Regions from separate parts of the Homo sapiens genome. Here region 1 is linked to region 2. Evidence: promoter capture Hi-C in 16 types of primary human blood cells and fetal thymus (Javierre and others, 2016). All regions are on one chromosome and are shown on one strand. Each heading gives the region's core, a stretch centred on a gene start or on the middle of the fragment in contact. The rest is flanking DNA. Distances are from core to core; before and after follow the strand shown.

The links. Contacts are between HindIII fragments. The CHiCAGO score rates a contact against its expected background, and 5 or more counts as called.
Region 1: a contact is called between a fragment that was not itself captured here and the fragment with the promoter of GPRIN3 in region 2, in 5 of 17 cell types (naive CD8 T cells, non-activated CD4 T cells, activated CD4 T cells and 2 more). The highest score is 7.6, in naive CD8 T cells.

What each region holds. Positions count from the first base shown.
Region 1 is chr4:89,261,121-89,263,820 of GRCh38, reverse strand. All of the region lies in intron 1 of GPRIN3 (GPRIN family member 3), which reads left to right. Among named protein-coding and RNA genes, the nearest start is that of GPRIN3, 45 kb to the left of the region's middle. The HindIII fragment of the contact is 2,635 bases long and covers 88-2,700 here.
Region 2 is chr4:89,306,444-89,309,143 of GRCh38, reverse strand. It overlaps GPRIN3 (GPRIN family member 3), which reads left to right and starts at 1,344. Exons shown (of 2, transcript NM_198281.3): 1 at 1,344-1,529. RefSeq lists silencers at 1,265-1,334, 1,345-1,394. The HindIII fragment of the contact is 16,857 bases long and covers 1-2,700 here.

The sequences.
Region 1 (2,700 bases), core at 156-2,655, 45 kb after region 2:
GTAAATGCACATCTTTGATGAGCTGAAATTCTCTGGGCCTCAGTTTCCTCATCTGTAAAATGAAGACCATAATCCTTTTTTGAAGCTTGTTTTCAGATACGTAAATAACACACAGAATCTGACAAATGACAATAATGCTGCAGGACTTTTCCTTAGTTCAGCTAAAGATGGGGTACTTTGTCCTACAGCCACGAAAATTCAGGCTCACAGGCAATTTGAATGGTTAGTAATACAGGGTTTTATTGAGTGAAAAGGAAGAAGGGGAAACAGGGACACTCCAAAGGCCTGAGTCCCTGCTACAGTGCTTCCTGCCTGGCCATTTGAATCCCAGGTTTCACACAGGAAGAGGAGGGGCCAGGCTCCTCCCTGCAGCAAATGGTGCAGACTTCCTGGGCCTCCACCCCAGTGCACATTCCCGCCAGTGCACAGGCTGGATGGAGATTCTCCGGGGACCCCCTCCCACCTGGCTATCTCAATAAGAGAACATACCAATCAGAAAATGAAATGGATCAGATAGTGAAGGACATTTTTTTAAATTGTGCCCAAATGTATACATCTTATTTTGTAGGTGAATGGGGAACGATTAAAATTTTTTATGCACAGAGAAGTGGCATATTTGTTTGTTTTACAAAGGTAACATTAGCAGCAAGTGGCGGGTAAGTGTTTAGCATTGACTGAATGAGACCAGTTAGTATAATATTGTGCTTTCATGAGATATGATAAATTCAGTTAAGCCCAGTACTGACAGAAGACGTGGATTTGATAACTGGCAATTAAAATATGTTTTCTAAATTTTGTATGTTGACATTTAGTCAATTCCCAAAATATAGACTAGAGAAATAAAAATAAATGCATTTTTTTCTTAATCACTTTTATTGATGTTTTGACTTAATTTCGTAGTTGTTTGTCTTAGGTCATCTTTGGATTTATTGTTTGAGGAATGTATGATTTGAAAACCAACTGCTAGAGCTACCAGGAATAGGAAAGTAGGGGGATGGCGGAGGGTGGGCAGGGCAGAGAAATCAACTAATAAACAGGAGTCAGAAAGTCTGGGAAAAGTAACTTAAGTAAACTTTTATTTTGTGGCCTAACAGACATTACTTTAAAAAGCATTTCTCAGCTGTTGACTTTGAAAACTACTCACATTGCCCAGCTTGGAGCTTTTAGATAACCAAGATGGATAAGAAAATTATGGTTTCCTTAGTTGCATGGCCAGGCTGACCTCCCTGCACAGCAAAGAGCAGATGGAAAGGGTGTTGAAGCGTAGACCAGCACGAATCCATCATCACTGACAGAAACGTCAGCGTGCATGCTTGCTCAGTTTTGCCTAGGTGAGGAGCACCAGGCCTTACATTTTTTTTATTATTTTTGAGTAGGTAATAAGTTCATATAGTTTAAAATTCCAAAAATACAAAAGGATACTAAGCGAAAAATGTTCCATCCATTCTGTCCCCCAAGCACCATCTTCCTTCTCTGATAGCAATTTTTTATTTATCCTTGCAGCAATATTTTATATGTCTACAAGCAAAGATACTCATTTTTCTCTTCTTAATACAAATGGTAGCATACAAAATATGCCAGTATCTTGAAATTTTATTATTATTATTGGATTTTTGTTTTGTTTTAGTTGCTGTTTTACTTAAAAATGTATTTTGGAGATTATTCCATATCAATTCTTTTTTTTTTTTTTTTTTTGAGACTGGGTCTCACTCCGTCATCTAGGCTGGAGTGCAGTGGCAGCATCTCAACTCACTGCAACCTCTGCCTCCCAGGCTCAAGCAGTTCCACCACCTCAGCCTCCTAACCAAGTAGCTGGGACCACAGGCGCGTGCCACCATGCCAGGCTAATTTGTGTGTGTGTGTGTATTTTTAGTAGAGACGGGGTTTCACCATGTTGCCCAGGCTGGTCTTGAACTCCTAAGCTCAGGCTATCCACCCCCCTACAGCCTCCCGAAGTCCTAGAATTACAGCTGGAGCCACCTCACCCAGCCCCATATCAATTCTTAAAGAGCTTCCTCGTTACTGAGTATGGCTGCTTAGTATTCATTTCATCAAAATAGCATAATTTTTATAACTAACTTCTTATTAATGGACATTTAAATTGCTTCTAATCTGTTGTTATTTCATGTAGTGAAAAACCTTGTGCATATATCAATTAGCACATTTATTTAGTTTACTTACAACATTAGTACCTGAGGTGGAATTGCAGAGTCAGTGTATACAAACTGGCATTTTTGATAAACATTGCCAAATTGTTCCTTATAGGAATTATACTAACTTGCATTCTCACAGGTAGAGTATGAGAAGTGCTCTCTTTGACTTGAGAGCCGAAAACTATATCATTAAGTCATATCCAGCTGGAATAAGTTATCTTACATCAACTCACAGGCATTCATTCTAAGGAGATTTCTGTCTATCAAAGGTAAATATGCTCACCTCCTGGATCAGTGGTTCTTTCAATCAGGGACAATTACGTCCTCCCAGAAATGTCTGGAGACATTTTTTATTGTCACAGCTGGAAGTAGGGGCACTACTGGGATCTGGGGAGCGGAGGCCAGCATTGCGCTGCTAAACATCCTACTGTGCATAGGACAATCCTCCTTTCTTCCCTTCCCCACTACAAGCTATCTGGTCCAAAATGTCGATAGTTCCAGGGTGAGAAACTCTACCCTAGATTAACATCTAGCTCCTCTTGATCAT
Region 2 (2,700 bases), core at 95-2,594:
GGGAGGCCGAGGCGGGCGGATCACCTGAGGTCAGGTGTTCCAGACCAGCCTGGCCAACGTGGAGAAACCCTGTCTCTACTAAAAATACAAAAATTAGCCGGGCGTGGTGGTGGGCGCCTGTAATCCCAGCTACTTGGGAGGCTGAGGCAGGAGAATCGCTTGACCCCGGGAAGCGGAGCTTGCAGTGAGCCGAGAGCGCGCCACTGCACTCCAGCCTAGGAGACGAAGCAAAAAACAAAAAACAACAACAACAAAAAACTAAAAAAGCGTTTCCTCAGTCCCTACCCCAGACCTATTGGATCACAATCAGCATTTTAACAAGACCCCCTAGGTGAGTCCTGTGTACTAGATGAGAGGATATATTTTGGATTGGTTTGAATCCCAGCTGAGCAGGTTACTACTGTGTGACCTCAAGCAAAGTGTTTAGATCATATAAGCCTGTTTCCTCGTCCACATGGTAAGGCACCTCAATGGGTTGTAGTAAGAATTAAAGAGGCTGAGGCTGTATGTAAGGCATTTTTCACAGAGCCTTCCAACAAATACCCAGTTAATAATGAAGCTCTTTTCATCGTATCATTTTGCACCATCTACAGCTGCTAACCATACTACACATCCATTCAGGATTCTGGAGCTGCTCAACAGGGAAGATTTCCAAAGCCCTCAAAGCCCTCCAAGCCCATGGGGTAGCGGGAAGGGGATGGGGACAGGAACACTGTCAGCAGTGCCTCTCCGAATACGCAGGATACTGTACATTTTGCAAAACATATTACTTATCGGATGATCTTGCTTTCAGATCTCCACTGCACGTGGCTTTATTGGAAACCTTCTGCTAGAGTCTAGACTCAGCCATGGAGTCTGGTGACCTGTGGGAGGGAGCAAGGGCCAGAATGCCTGCTAAATCGCTCTGGGTCCCCAGCCCTCTTCCTTAATCCCTTCTTAACTTTCCATCTGTCTCTGGTCTCCAGGGGTGCAGAACCACAACCCACCAGACCCCTCCTAGCTCCCGGCCCGGCGCTCAGCAGCCTGGGCTGCAACACTTTCCCCCAGGACCGGGAAGGCGGGGGAGGGGGTTTGGAGGGGGCGGAGCTCGGCCTCCTGCTGCCGCCGCTGCTGCTGCCGCCGCCGCCGCCTGCAAAGCTGTCGCCCCTCTCTCGGATGCTCAGGCTGGGCAGCGCTGGACAGATGGGTACACCCCGGGCCTGACGGATGAACAGTCGGGCAAGTGAACTCTCACCTCCAAACTGGCTCTGCGCCCGGCGGGGGCGGCGGCGGCGTCTGCAGCCCCGCGGTGGGGGCAGCCCCCTCGGTCTACGCCCGACTGCTGCGCGCCGCCTCTGCTCTTGGCATAGTAATTTCAGTTCCTGAACGCACGGAGCTCGCTCCGGGACCGGGCTGAGAAGGACCTCAGCTCGCGGGCCCGCCGGAGCCATCGGTGTGGCGCCGAGAGACGGTGCTTGGGATATGCGACGGGAAGCCCCCGCCACAGCGCAGGCAGTGGCCCCGCCGCGCCGCGGAGCCGGGCAGAGCAGGTAGGAGACGCCCCCTGCGCACCTCCGCCTGGCGGCCAGCGCGGGGGACCGGAGCCTGGTGGTGTGCTCTGTAGGGATGCGGAAGGGATTCGGTCCCACATTTTGCACAGGGATCCTTTGCCTGTTGCTCTTGTCTCTGTCCCATCCTGCGCTCTAGGAGGGGCAGTCTTTCTCGCAGGTGATGAATTTCTCTGCAAGGTCATTGCTCTCTTTGGCTCTGGCTTTGAAGGTAAATGGGAGAAGACGCCTGCTGATCGTGGGCAGGGAAATTTATAATCAATCGGGTCTGCACACTGCGAATATCCGAATATGAGGGGTGTGTGTGTGTGTGTGTGTGTGTGTGTGACATTTGTCTCATTTTCCTATGCTTATCCCCTTTAAGGTCAAAACATAGAAATATATATTACATATGGATGTATGTATGTGTGTGTATATACACACACATACATAAATGCATATGTAAATAGGTTTTCTTGAGGTAGGCAGAAAGAAGAGGAAGGGCGGGCAGGGGTTGATAAAGGGAAATCGTTGTAGAGACATGTTCACTAATAGAGGCGAACTTTGGAACCACATTAAATCAGGGTAGAGACTAGAGGTGATAAACGGTTCTTTCAAGATGGGCTTTAGAAGAGGTCTGAAGGAGCCTGTCAGCCAACACACACAGAAGATCTTCATGCTCTCCAGGCAGATGGAAACGATGTAGGCATCATTTCAGACGCAATAATGGACAGTGAAAGAGGGAAAAAAGGAGAGGTACTTAATATGCCACTGGGAAGTGAATTTTGGGTGATGGGAAGGCATCGAATCCAGACCAGGTTTCAAGGGCTTTCTGGAGGGCCATTGGGAGAAATCACCGCTTGGGGTGTAGGCAGTTCAAGGTTAAGACGATGTGAATGTCCACAAAGCAGCCGAGGAGGTGGGCAAAAGGCAAGGGCTTGGAGGGGGAGGGGAGAAACAGAGCTCTGAGCAGTCACTCAAGAAGCACCCACCTTTGAGTAAGGTGTCTTCTTCCTCTTGGTTAAAGCGGTACTTGGGTATGCTCCATCTAAATATTTTCACAACACATTTGTTTAAAGATCCATTGGACTATGTTTTTATTTTGTTTTTGCAAGGTATCTGGGTCATGGTGGGACTAGAAGAAACTGAAGTGTTTACAACACCAGCAAGATTT